Regions from separate parts of the Homo sapiens genome. Here regions 1, 3, 4 and 5 are each linked to region 2. Evidence: promoter capture Hi-C in 16 types of primary human blood cells and fetal thymus (Javierre and others, 2016). All regions are on one chromosome and are shown on one strand. The core of a region is centred on a gene start or on the middle of the fragment in contact, and the rest is flanking DNA. Distances in the headings are between cores, read along the strand shown. Region 1 overlaps LINC02749 (long intergenic non-protein coding RNA 2749). Region 2 holds the start of C11orf40 (chromosome 11 putative open reading frame 40). Region 3 has its middle 25 kb from the start of OR52J3. Region 4 has its middle 19 kb from the start of SSU72L5. Region 5 has its middle 8.2 kb from the start of LINC02749.

What was found. Contacts are between HindIII fragments. The CHiCAGO score rates a contact against its expected background, and 5 or more counts as called.
Region 1: a contact is called between a fragment that was not itself captured here and the fragment with the promoter of C11orf40 in region 2, in 8 of 17 cell types (M0 macrophages, M1 macrophages, M2 macrophages and 5 more). The highest score is 8.4, in M0 macrophages.
Region 3: a fragment that was not itself captured here is called in contact with the fragment with the promoter of C11orf40 in region 2 in 1 of 17 cell types (erythroblasts); the score reaches 5.9 in erythroblasts.
Region 4: a fragment that was not itself captured here is called in contact with the fragment with the promoter of C11orf40 in region 2 in 8 of 17 cell types (M1 macrophages, M0 macrophages, M2 macrophages and 5 more); the score reaches 10.4 in M1 macrophages.
Region 5: a fragment that was not itself captured here is called in contact with the fragment with the promoter of C11orf40 in region 2 in 8 of 17 cell types (M2 macrophages, M0 macrophages, M1 macrophages and 5 more); the score reaches 11.8 in M2 macrophages.

What each region holds. Positions count from the first base shown.
Region 1 is chr11:4,195,602-4,198,301 of GRCh38, forward strand. All of the region lies in intron 1 of LINC02749 (long intergenic non-protein coding RNA 2749), which reads left to right. Among named protein-coding and RNA genes, the nearest start is that of LINC02749, 9.8 kb to the left of the region's middle. The HindIII fragment of the contact is 3,403 bases long and covers 1-2,700 here.
Region 2 is chr11:4,576,481-4,579,180 of GRCh38, forward strand. C11orf40 (chromosome 11 putative open reading frame 40) reads right to left here and starts at 1,340. Exons shown (of 4, transcript NR_172945.1): 1 at 1,200-1,340. The HindIII fragment of the contact is 3,404 bases long and covers 1-2,363 here.
Region 3 is chr11:5,020,049-5,022,748 of GRCh38, forward strand. No RefSeq gene overlaps it. Among named protein-coding and RNA genes, the nearest start is that of OR52J3, 25 kb to the right of the region's middle. The HindIII fragment of the contact is 1,764 bases long and covers 507-2,270 here.
Region 4 is chr11:4,212,578-4,215,277 of GRCh38, forward strand. No RefSeq gene overlaps it. Among named protein-coding and RNA genes, the nearest start is that of SSU72L5, 19 kb to the right of the region's middle. The HindIII fragment of the contact is 2,918 bases long and covers 1-2,700 here.
Region 5 is chr11:4,177,649-4,180,348 of GRCh38, forward strand. No RefSeq gene overlaps it. Among named protein-coding and RNA genes, the nearest start is that of LINC02749, 8.2 kb to the right of the region's middle. RefSeq lists enhancers at 1,092-1,619, 1,620-2,146. The HindIII fragment of the contact is 1,451 bases long and covers 725-2,175 here.

The DNA of each region.
Region 1 (2,700 bases), core at 80-2,579, 380 kb before region 2:
AGATTAGTCCTGTGAGAGCTCCTCCAAGTTGATTCTTGTGTCTTTTTGACACACTGCTATTACTTTTTGAGCACTTCCTTACTTTCTGTTACTACAAGATATTCCAGGCTCATCTTGTACTTTCCCGGCTCAAACTCTGTAATCTGGTATTTTTCTAAGAAACCCTGATTCCTTTTAGCAGAGAATTGTGTATAAAAACAAACCAAGACCTGGAATAGGTCTGTTCATTGCCAGAGTGTTGTTATTTTTAGGCCCTGTCATACATATACACACATGTGTGTGTAGTATATATATTATGTAAATATGCACACACACACATGCAAATCCATTCATCTATCTACCTACCTACTTACCTACCTATCTTTCTTAAAAACCATGAGTTCATACTGATATGACCAGTTCCAATCCAACACTCTAGAGTTCATTTTAACCTTCTCTCTTTCCATATATGTAATTTCCTTCTCCAACCGTGAAAAACCTGGTTTCAGTTACCCACAGTATATTTACTTATTTGCTTAATCCTAGAATACACAGAATGTAGTTTCAGAATTGTTAACTCATGCTGGTGTGGGAAACAAATCTATTAAACAGAGTTCAATATTTGCTACTGTCTTTTTGCCCTAGCCTGAGAATACAGAGGCAAAGTACTGCTTCAAAACTTCTGTTATCACCCCCTACCCGTACTGTGTTTTGTCATTCACTTAACCTACAGTTCGGTACACTTGCTTCCATATGTATTCAATGCTAATGTTTCCTCCTTTTATCCTTGTTGATTGTATTTACTGAAAAACTGAGTACATGAAACATTAACATGGTTGTAAAAGTCAGAACAGATCTGTACAAAAACATGAACTCAGAGAAGTGTCACTGCCCTCCATCTTCTCTACCTTGCTCCCACCATCTTATTCTTTTCACCCATCAGGCTAAAAAAAGACATCAGAGAAAAATATATCCTAATATGTTGAGTTTATTCGGGAGTAAGCAAAAGGATTATAATCTGGGAAGCACAGCTGTAGCAAGCCATAGGTACAGGTACATCAAGCCAAAGGTAAAGGGAAATTTTTACTGGCAAGGAGAAGCTATGTAAGCTGCTTGGAGACAGAGTTCATTGGTTCTGGAGGCTCAAAGCTAGAATTAGCATCAGTTCATTGGTGGAGATGCCACTGCTAGGCATCGGCCTAGCATCTTATCAGAATTGCTACAGTCCTAAAGAATGTATAGTGATAAACCTGGTCATAGAAATATGTGCATGCATGTAAAATGTAAAATGCATGTAAAATGTAGATCATGAAAAGCATGAGATGTATAAAAGATGAAGGAATTTCTCGTGGAGTTATTTTAGAAAGTCCTTGAAATAGTCCTTATCTCAGATGTGCAAGCATGAGCTGTGCTCCTTTGTGTGTTCTGGCTCCAGTTTGCTCGGGTCTGACAAAAGTGACTTATTTTGCTATCTGCAACTTTAGTCACTCCATTTCCACCCACTCCTGTATGGAACCAATCTCATTAGTTTCTGGGTTTCCTTTCCTAAGTTTCTTTTTGTATAGTTGTGCAGACAAATATATATTTTCTTATTCCCCTTTCTTTCTTGCACAAAACGTGGCATACCATAAACACTTTCTCACACTTTGCTTTTTAAATTTAACAGCATATCTTGGGAGCCATTCTATATCAGTTTATAGATGTCATCCTCATTCATTTTTATAGCTGCAGACTATTCCATTCGATGATGTACCATAGTTCATTCAACCATTTTCCTATGTAAAGTCATTTTGGTTGTTTCTAATATTTTTCAATTATAAACAATGCTACAATGAAAATCCTTAAACATATGTATTTTTGTATATATTTGAATATGTATTACCAGGATAAATTATAAAAAGGGGGAAAAGCATGTGCCATTTTGTTTGATATCATCAAATTCTCCCCCATTAAGGTTGTACTAATTTCCATTCCCATCAGAAATGCTTGAGCATCTACTTTCTTCAAGCCTTGCCAACAGAACGTGTTAGTGTATGTTTACATTTTTGCCAATCTGCTAGGTGAGAGATAATATCTCAGTGTTATTTTAATTTGCATTTCTCTTATTATAGTTGAGGCTGAATGTTTTTTCACATGTTTACGGGACATTTTAATTCTTTTTTCAGTCAATGGTCTGTTTATGTCTTTGACTATTTGACCATTTTTATATCAGGTTTTTGAAACTTCTATCGAGTAGAAAAAGTTATTTATATATTAGCGATATTACATATGTATCTGTGTTATATATTACCGATCTTTTCTCTCAGTGTTTAATTTATTTTGGGATTTTTTTTTTTTTTTCTGCGACAGAGTCTTGCTCTGTTGCCCAGGCTAGAGGGTAGTGGTACAGGCTCGGCTCACTGCAACCTCCCCCTCCCAGGTTCAAGCGATTCTCCTGCCTCAGTCTTCTGAGTAGCTGGGATTACAGGTGCCCGCCACCACGCCCGGCTAATTTTTGAATTTTTAGTAGAGACGGGGTTTCACCACGTTGGCCAGGCTGGTCTTAAACTCCTGACTTCAGGTGATCTGCCTACCTTGGCCTCCCAATGTGCTGGGATTACAGGCGTGAGCCACAGCACCCGGCCAGGACTTTTCTTTTTTCTTTTTTTTTTTGAATAAAATAATTTTATTTTTGTATAATAAAATAATTTTATTTTTGTATAATAAAATAATTTTATTTTT
Region 2 (2,700 bases), core at 90-2,589:
CCACTAAACCAGAAGCAAAGTGGCAGCTGAGAGCTGGTGCTGATTTTTTAAATTGGGAGACTCCTGAGTGTGTTCACCTGTAACTACAGTATCATAATTCACCTTCCAAAATTTAACATCAGGATTCACAAGAAAAAAAAGTTGCCATTGCCAGACATGGGCTAGAATCTTAAACTTGACAGTAAAGAAAATGAACTCTACATTGTGAAATATACATCACTCCCTAGATTCTATGATCAGATCTAGAACCAACTCAGAATAAAGTCACAGAACCAATATTAGTTAACTTTCAGTGAATTTTTCCTATCAAAAAGTATCTTTTAAACTAGCAAAAGAAGAAGAAAAGGGAAGCATATGGTTTAGCATGGTAAGGATTCTCTTGTCCTAATTGTGTTCAGGACAACTTAGAAAACAGTTTTCTGGGTCCTCATTTCCAGCCTGCCAGCTTATAATCACACTTGAGAGTCTACTTTCTGGGGCCATTCCTGCTATCAACTGTCTTAAGTTGGGTTCCTTAGAAACTGACTTTGAGACCTTTCCATGCTGAAAGTTTATCAGAAAGTAAGCTCACAAACAATGTCTCAACAGGTGCAAAGGAAGCAGAATTTTGCAGAGGGAGAAGGTGAATTACAACGGAGTTTCATCAGACTTCCCAGCTGATTTACGAGAAACTCTGGAGTAGAGATGGTCCTACACACTTGTCCTGAGTTAGGCAAGGGAGTCAGGCCTTTAAACTCACCATCAACTAGTCATTAAATACAATCATTGCAAACGGAGGGTGGCTAATTTAGGGTAATAGAGTTCCCTTTGGCTGAAGGTAATTCCTGAAAGAAATGTAGGTGTGAACTATCAGCAGCTGATAGCTCCCAGCTTATGAGGTAATGAGTGCTTCAAGGGGGGGATCTGTGTGGAGCTACACAGTTTACAGCTGGGGAAAGTTTATATCTGATTAGTCTTCTGAGAGGACTTGAGATGGGTGTCAGATCCTAGGGTTCAGGTCCAGCCCATGCTGAAGTCCGAGGGGAGTGGGTGGATGAACAGAAAGAACACTCGGGGGTCCATATGCAGGTGAAAGATGACTTCATTCAGCAGCAGTTCTTATTAACAACTTTCTCACACTGTCCACCTTTATCTCAACTGTGTGCTCTGGCTCTGTGGCTCCTGCCGCCCCCATGCCTGCAGCTGCATAGCCGGCTCACCCTTGGCTTCAGGGTCAGCAGCTTAACTTTTTCTCTCTCTGGGCACCAGTGTGAGCTGTGTTGTGGGTCCCCTCTGTCCATCTGCAAAATGGACAGCTTTGGCTCTCTTTCTCTGGGCACCAGCGCCTGCACTAGAGCCATGTTGAGTTGAGCCAAGCCCCAAAAGTCCCTGTATAGTGTTAGCAAGGCAATTATACCTTTTACAGACAATAGTGGCTCAGAGCCAAGTATGAACTTACACAAACAATCTATATAACAAGTAGAAGTGTGCACCTGTGCAACAAACTTGCTGAATCATGCAGGCCTGGATATCTGCCTTGGCTTATTCCTTGACCAAAACACATCCATATACGTTACAATGGGTGAAGGGAATAAATGGTCAGACTTTTCCTGATGATAGAATGGACTCTCCCATTGTTGCTCCCATGCTTCTTATCATAGTTCCTGTTTGTTAAGACATTATGAAACAGGTAGAATAAAATTAAACATAATTTAAAAATGAGGACCAAAAATAAATAAAAGTCTGTAAGAAGCAATATAAACAGACAAAAAATATATTCACCTTCTCAATTTTGGTTTTTAAAAGATTCAGGCATAAAATAACAGAAACAAAACTATTAGAACGAAAATATCAGACAAATTTGGAAAATACATTTAAAGCTCACTTAAAATGTGCTTGTATTTATTGGTTAACTTTTTAGCAATGGAAATTGTAGAGAAGGACACACGTAGAGAGCTGGAAGTGATAAATTCTCCTGGCAGGAGGCCAAAGACCTTAAGTAATTGATGTGTCTTGACCTGAACCTCAATCTCAAGAGACTCATTAAGCTGATCCATCTCTAAGGATATTCTGCTGTTTGAACAATTCTGTTGCATTCTCTGTAATAAAAAAAGAGATACTTTTGTGAAGAAATAACTAGAATCTTGTAGATTTTTTCATTAGGTGGTATTATGGCTGGCTCTTGATGGCCCAAAATGAATTTATTCCCTTGGAAAATATGGCAGGGTTCTTCCTAGTGAAAATTAGCTTAAGCAAAAAGGACTGTGTGATTGACATGGGACTTGTGTATCAATACTTGCACGCATGCGTGTATGCACACACAAACACACATACACACACAAGCCGGACATTTGCCTTTATGCTGAGGTGGCAAATAGGAACAAAGCTTTGGCCTAATGAATTTCAGACTTAATCCCTAGTTCCCCTCAACGTAACTTCTGAGGTTATAACGTCTGCAGGCAAAGATTTCCACTATACCCTAAAATCTAGCCACTTGTCGACTATATCATCTCTTCCTTTTATGCTATACTTTCTTCAGCTGCCTAATGTGTGTCCTAGTCCATTTTAAGTGCAAATTTCCATTACAAAAAAGACTACAAAATGGATCCAAATAGGTTGGAGTCATTAGAGATACCGAATATAGACCTATATGTCACTTTATCAGCTAGAAATTCAGCATCTAAATTCTCTTTCTTGGCTTCAGTCTGGAGCTTAACATAC
Region 3 (2,700 bases), core at 139-2,638, 440 kb after region 2:
ATTATGGCAGAATAGTATCCCATTGTGTATATATATGACTTTTTAAAAACCATTCTTCTGTATATGAACATTTGTGTTGTTTTCATATATTGGCTATTGTAAGTAATTCTGCAATGAACATATGGGGTGCAAATATCTTTTTGAAATACTGATTTTATTTCCTGTGGATGTATACCTAGAAGTGGAATTACTGGATTGTATGGTAGTTTCATTTTTCAGTTTTTCTAATATCTTCACACTGTTTTCCCGAATGACTCTACCAATTTGTATTCCTATCAACAGTGTAAAGGGTTCCTTTTTTTCCAAACTTTTGCCAACTCTTCTTATGTCTTGTCATTTTGATAATGGCCATCCTAATAGATATGAGGCAATATTTTGCTGTGGTTTTGATTTACACTTCTCTGATAATTAATAATATTGAAAACCTTTTCTTATGCCTGTTGGTCATTTATTTCTCTTCTTTGGACAAAAAATGACTATCTGATACCACTCTCTCCTGGCCTGCAAGCTTTCTGCTGAGAATTTTGCTGATAACCTCGTAGACATTTCTTTGTAAGTGGCAAGTCTCTTTTCGTGTGCTGCTTTCAAGATTCTCTCTTTTTATTTGGCCTTTGACAGTTTGATTATCATATTTTGGGGTGTTCTTCTTTTGTTAGATTTTATGAGAGGTCATCTGAGCTTTGCTAATTTGGATGCCTGTGTCTCTCCCAACATCTGGAACATTTTCAGACACTATTTACCAATGCTTTTTTGTCCCTTTCTTTCTCTCTTCTCATTCTGGGAATCTCATAATTCGTATGTTTGTTTGCTTGGTGGTTCCCATAGGTTCTTTATGCTTTCTTAACAGTTTTTTAAAATCATTATTTCTTTTTGTTCCTTTAATTTATTAATGTTATATGACTTTCTTCATGGTCAATAATTTTTTTCTTGGTATTATTGAGTTGGCTGTTGAAGATATCTATTGTATTTTTCAGTTCTTTTATTGTATTCTTTGACTCTAGGTTTTCTGTTTAGTTCTTTTTTATGGTTTCTATTTCTTTATTAAACTTCTTGTTTGTTGCTGTATTGTTTCTTCGTTGTGTTTAGTTGTTTATCTGTGTTCTCTTGCATTTCATCAACCCTCTTTAAGCTGATTATTTTGAGTTATTTGTCAGGTAATTTGTCAATCGCCATTGCTTTGGGGTCAATAACTGAAGTTTTAGTAGTTTTCTTTGGTGGTGTTATGCTTGCTTAATTCTTTGTTGTGCAGGTAGCCTTGCATTGGTGTCTGCACATTTGAAGGAGAAAACATCTCTTCTAGACTTTGTTGACTGATTTTGAAAGTAAAGACCTTCTTTTGTTGGTTGTCCAGGCTGATGAAGTTGCCTGTAAGATCTGAGTTGAGTTAGTGTGGAATTGAGTTATGTTGCTGCTGCTGAGTCTACAGTGCAATCTGTGATTAGTGGGTGTATTATGAGGGGCTAAAGCGAGTGTGGCCTCTGTCTTGTTTTTGGATGGACTAGATAATACCAGGAAATTGGTCAGTAGAGCTGGCACTGAAATAAGGTTTGTTTCAAGGTCCACAGCTAGCTCTTCAGGTGGCAGGTATGTTACCAGGTGTGCAGTCAAGTCTGGCTTCCTCTAGGTCCCTGGGAGGGCTCCCTCTATGTCATTGGCTATGCACATGGCTTGGCTGGAATGGCCCTCAACTGTCACTGAGAGGGATTGAAACTAAATCACAAGGCTGCTTCAAGGTCCACAGCCAAGGCCAAGGTCAGCAGGCCTGCCTCCAGAGGCACAGATGGTCATGCCTCCCTCAATGTTCCTGGGCAGACAGGATTATCCCTAGAATGTGTCTCAGTGGGGCAGAAGCTGGATCACAGGAGGGCTTCAAGATCTGTGGTCAGAATGTTATTATTTAGGCCTGCCTCAAGACGCATGAATGGACTTCTCTCCCTACAGGTCCCTGTGCAGGAATGACTACTCTCAGACCATAGATGACAAAGACTGGAGATGAGTTACATGGTTACTTCAAAGCTGAAAACAAGGCCTTTTACCCAAGGCATGGACGGACATGACTTCTTCCAGTCCCTTGGCGGATAGTTATATTTGAAGGACTGAGGGCAAACTCAGGTTGTAGCTGAGTCTATAGTGGGATGAATCATTTCCAGGCCTCTGTCCAGGACTCTGTTCAGCAAGACTGTCACCTAAATGCAGGCCTGTCAGCTCAAAATAGCTCTCCTCAATTTAGGGCTCCAATAGAGTTTTGCAACCTCCTACCTTAATCCAAAAGCTTTTACAAAGGAGCTTTTGTATATACAAATTGCTTCCAAATTCTTGTTGCTATGTGGCATATAAGTAGGATATCTCCTTTTCTGCCATTTTGCTTGCAATCGTACTTAATTTTCAAGTCTGACAAACTCAGTTTTTTGAATTGTGAATCCATTTGTATTTAGTGTTATTGATATAGTTGGATTTACATCTGCAATTTTACTTTTTGCTCTTTATATGTCTCATTTTTGTATGTTTCTCTATTCCTTCTCTTCTGCTTTCTTTTGTTCTAAAATAATACTGTCTTAAGATTTAATTTATTTAACTATTTTTGTTATATATTACTGATGTTTTCCTTAATGGTTGTCCATAGCTTACATCTCCTCTGAAAAGAATCAGTTTTAGATTTATACCAGCTTAATTCTAGTGATACACCTGTACTTTAGAGAT
Region 4 (2,700 bases), core at 196-2,695, 360 kb before region 2:
ATGGTTAAATAGATCAAAGCCATTGTATTTATATTTTCGAATTATGTATAAGAATAATACGTATTTGTTACTTTATGATCTTGTAATATTTAGATAATTTGGCATATTATAGTACCTACCAGATATAGTGCTTAACAGATTTCAACTTTTATTTATGTATTTTTAAAAATAGAGTTGGGGGTCTCACTGTTGCCCAGCCTAATCAAGAACTCCTGGGCTCAAGTGATCTTGCCTCGGCCTTCCAACGTGCTAGGATTATAGGAGTGAGCCACCATGCCTGACGTCAACTTTTAAATGTGCATATAAATAATTACCAAGAAGTAATTTTAAATTGAAATGTGTAATAATATTTCAGCAAGTTATGTTAACAACATGTATGAGAACCTCACATCCACTATAATTCTAAATTTATTTTATTAGATTATAAGAACTAGTTAGAAACTTATTAAAACATTTTTAAAATGAAAATCAATCTCTATATTTAAGGAAATCAAAACTGTAATTATTTATAAACACTTTGAATTTTTTATGAAGACTTATTAACTAGGTTGTAATGGCTACTTAAAAATGACCGGTAACATTTTTTAGAAAGTTTTAAAAACTGAACTTAAAATATAAGAAATAATAAGATTTTTAAGTATATTTTATTTCTGAGTCAACTGTTGACTTTAAAAAGGGCCGACAACCGTGCAGTGCAGCTTTCTGTAAGAACCTCAATGAACACACATGAGAAAATGTAGCTTAAAAAAAGGTTCACTTTTTAAAGGACATTACTGATGTCCTAAAATATACTAGGTATATATTGTTGCTTGGGTGTTTGAAGTTGTTTGGATGAAATAAACTTGGGTTCAGTCACAGAATACAAGATTGTCTACTGATTTCAGATGATAATGTGTCTGGAGAAGATGAGCCTTCTCAAAGGCAATTGCAGAAAGACAAGATAATTTTGAGGGCAACATTTTTTTTTTCTAGGATGGACGAAAACGGAAAAAAAGTAGTAACAATGAAAAAGATGTTTATAACATTTAAAAAACCCTCAAAACTGACTATAAAGGAAAACCATTTTAACAAAAGCTAAAACTACATGCATTTCAAACTTATGCAGTGTATTTAAGTCACACTGGCCCCTTAGATGTCCCTACAAGCGCTGCAGACGTCGGGGAGGCCTGTGGAGTGACCGGTCCTCACCTCCTCCGGCTCTCAGTGCCCCATCTGCCAGCTGTCACAGTGCTGGTACACTCTAACAAGACCTCCCTGGGGCTCAGGGATAAACAGAGAGAAACACAGTAATACTATGATACTAGAAATACTGGCTTTTAAAGTATGGTACTGTTTATTATCTTACGACAGGAAGTCCTGTCGTATCTGAGATATGGCTCTGAAAGAATTCTTGGTCTAGGTATTTCCCATCTCTAGAGGGCGGTGATATATTTGAAGCAATCACTTAATTACAAGAGCTCTCTCCTCCTGTACCCTGCCACATTTATTGTCAATAACTCAGAATTTCCTAAGTGATAAGGGATGGCTCTCTGTGTCTTCTGACCCCTCAGAGAGCTCACAGTGGTGTCTTTGGATGCCTGCATCCTGTCCTGCCTCCTCCCCGCCTTACCGTGGGGCTCACACAGTCAATGGCCATAGAAGAGCCACTGCAGTCCCACCTGGATTCATAGCACCAGGAAAGGAGCAGGCCTCTTTCAGCCAGCCAAAGAAACACTTACCCCTTATTAGGGAAGCTGCACAACAGACTAAAACCGGATCCAGGAAACAGTGGACAGGGGACTCAGGTGGGTGTGGAGTGTGCGCCTCACTCCCCAGGAAAGCAGCGCTAGGGCCCTTTCCCTCAGAACTCTGTGGCGTGCATTGCTTCTGGCCAAGGAGGGGAAAGTTCTTTCTGGCTCTCCTCAAAGTCTTATTACAGACCTTCCTGGAATTGCTTATACATCTTCTTGGCCCCTTTCAGCTTCACTCTGGTGATACCAGTAGGTCACTGACCCAGAACATGGCCCCTGAACTCTGGTCTTGAGGTGGTGGTGGTGGCGATGGGCTTTTTGGGGTCAACTGACTTTTACTTCCTTCCAGGCAAGGTCACTGAACATGTGAAAATATGCTGGCTTTCCACCTAGTGAGGAGCTACATTATCTCTGAGTGAGAGCAGGACATTTCACCTTTGAAATGGCAAGTGGAAAGAACAGGTGGAGGTAATCAAGGACACACACACACACACACACACACACACACACACACACACACACAGGCTAATGAGGAACAGGAGGAAAAGGGATGGTGGGCAAACAGTGGAGGGAAGTGAAGGGGTGGGTGATGAGGAGGTGAAAGGAAAAAAAGGATCTAAAGGGAAAACTAGAACTGAAAGAAGGCAGGATGCAAAGGGAGAACAGCAGAGGGTGGTTGCCGCAAACACAAATCCTTCCCACACTTACCACACACACAGGCCTTTCTCTGCATTTGCTTCCCCAAGCTCTTCATGGTCATCTTCTTCCTGTGGCTGAGGGCCTTGTCCCAGGTCTTCATCACCTCGCCCCAGGGTATCTGGGAGGACCTCTCCATGGATGGGTCCTTCAGGAGGAACCTGAGTTTCTTCTCTATGTCAGCTCCTCCAGATTCTGTAGCAGTGGCTCACACAGGTGCTTTGGCCATGCCTTTCCAAGGTTGGCCATAGGCACTAGAGTCTAGAGGGAACAG
Region 5 (2,700 bases), core at 200-2,699, 400 kb before region 2:
CTTGCTTTTCTCATTCCTTGAGGTGCATTGTTAGATTATTTGAATTCTTTCCACTTTTTTGATGTAGGCATTTATTGCTATAAACTACCATTTAGCACTGCTTTTGCTGTATCCCATAGATTTTGGTATGTTGTGTTTTGATTTTCATTTGTTTCAAGAAATTTTTTGATTTCCTTTTAAATTTCTTTTTTGATCCAATGGCCATTCAGGGACATGTTGTTTAATTTCCATATATTTGTGCAGTTTCCAACATTCCTCTTGTTATTAACTTCTGGTTTTATTTTATTGTGGTCTGAGAAGGTACTTCATATGATTTTGATATTTAAAAATTTGTGGAGACTTGTTTTGTGTGCTAACATATGGTTTATCCTGGAGCATGTTCCATATGCTGATGAGAAGAATGTGTGTTTTGTAGCTGTTGGATGAAATGTCCTGTAAATTTTTGTTAGGTATATTTGGTATAATGTGCAGTTTTAATTCAATGTTTCTTTGTTAATTTTCTGTCTAGATCAGGGGTGTCCAATTTCTTGGCTTCCCTAAGGCACATTGGAAAAAGAATTGTCTTGAGCCACACATAAAATACAGTAACACTAACGAATAGCTGATGAGCTTAAAATAAATTGCAAAAGCTCTCATTATGTTTTAAGAAAGTTTATGAATTTGTGTTGAGCTGCATTCAAAGCCATCCTGGGCTGCATGTGGCCTGCAGGCCATAGGTTGAACAAGCTTGGTCTAGATAATCTGTTTAATGCTGAGAGTGGGGTGTTGAAGTTCACAACTCTTATTGTACTGGAGTCTACTTCTTTCTTTACATCTAATAATATTTGCTTTATATATCTGGGTGCTCTGATGTTGGGTGCATATATGTTTAGAATTGTTATATTCTTTTGCCAAATTGATCCCTTTATCATTATATAATGATTGTCTTTATCTCTTTTTATTGTTTTTGACTTAAAGTCTGTCTTATCTCTTATATGTACAGCTATTCCTGCTTGCCTTTGGTTTTCATTTGCATGGACTTTTTTCATCCCTTTAGTTTAAATCTATATGTGTCTTTATACATAAGGTGAGTTTCTTTTAGGAAGCATATAGTTGGGTCATGTTTTTTAATTCATTTAGCCAGTCTTTGTCTTTTATTTGGAAAGTTTAATCTGTTTGTATTCAAGGTTATTATTGATACATGATTTTATTAAATAATTTCTGGTGGCTGCATTGGGCTTGGGAGGCCAGTCCCTAGGCACATAGTGCGTACGTATGTGTGGGTGTCAGCTGTGGTGGTAGAGGCAGGTTGGGTGGGCCTGATCTCAGGCCCTGGGAAAGTGTTTGGGTGCCAAAGGTGATGAACTGGGTTGGGTGATTCCCATACCCAAAGATGACATGCTTAGGCACTGGGAAGGAGGAGTGGAGCCAGGCCTGGCTCCTTAGGCCCCTTAGTAGTGTGTGTAGGCACTGGCTGTGTTAGGCAGAGGCAGGTGATCCCTAGGCTCCTGGTGGTATGTTGGGGTGGAGGTGTCACTGCCACCCTGCTACTGGGGAGCACAGGGTTGCTTTCAGTGGCAGCAGCAGTAGGCAGGGAGCTGGGGAGCATGCACTTTGCTTGTGCTTTGGCAGCAGTAGGCAGGGAGCTGGGGAGCATGCACTTTGCTTGTGCTTTGGCAGCAGTAGGCAGGGAGCTGGGGAGCATGCACTTTGCTTGTGCTTTGGCAGCAGTAGGCAGGGAGCTGGGGAGCATGCACTTTGCTTGTGCTTTGGCAGTGGCAGTGGCTGTGGGGCAGGGGAGTCTGTCCTCAGGGCTTGTGAAATGCATAGTAACTGCTGCTGGGGGCACTGGAATCCGTGCCAATGGCTTCTGTTTTGACCCTGGGATCATCCAGCAGCTGCAGAGGCTGTAGGTTGGGTAGCCTTTCCTCAGGCCATATGAAATGTACTGTCACCCCTCTGTTGGGGGTGGGGGGTGGAGTTGCAAGCTGATGCTCTCAGTCAACCCCTTCCTCTGCTAACCATTGGTTTGCAGGCTGCATAATCCACTCTAACTTTGGGCAGGACTTCTAAGAGCTTCTAATCTGTAACTCCTTTTTGTACACCAACCCCAACCACCCAGCCTTGGGAAACTGAGTGTACAAGGCCTCAGCCTGGGTACACCGAAAGGAAGCAGAGAGGAGAAGCGAGTCAAGAAGCTTGAGATCTGACACAGGTTCTGGCAAGTGCCCTTGGGCCAGGGACTCTTATTTCCTCTTCCATAGAAGGTAGATGTTGGACTGGTGGCTTCTCATGGCCTTTCCCTTCCTGCATCAAACTTGTGATGTTTCTAGTGAATTTTGTATGATTGTAGTTTGGGAAGCTCTTTCATGTTCCCCAATTGACTTGATTTTTCGAACACTTGGGAGGTAGGTGGTACCAACCCACTTTACAGATGAGGGAACTGAGCTTTGGAGTGAGCAATCTCATAGCCAGTTGGTAACAGAACCAGGTCTGGAGTTGGCCCCCTGACTCCTATCTCCTGAGTTCACCCTGATTGCTGGGAGCTGGAGGAGCTTTTGGCACTGGGGGCAGATTGTTTTCTCCAAATGAGGCAGGCATGGGACCAGGACAAGCCAGGTCTCCTCTCCTCTTGCCCACCCTACTCACTCAGGCTAATACCTCCTATCCTGCTGTATCTAGTCTTAAAAATGGGTCTCTGTCCCCTCAGGGGGATCCTCT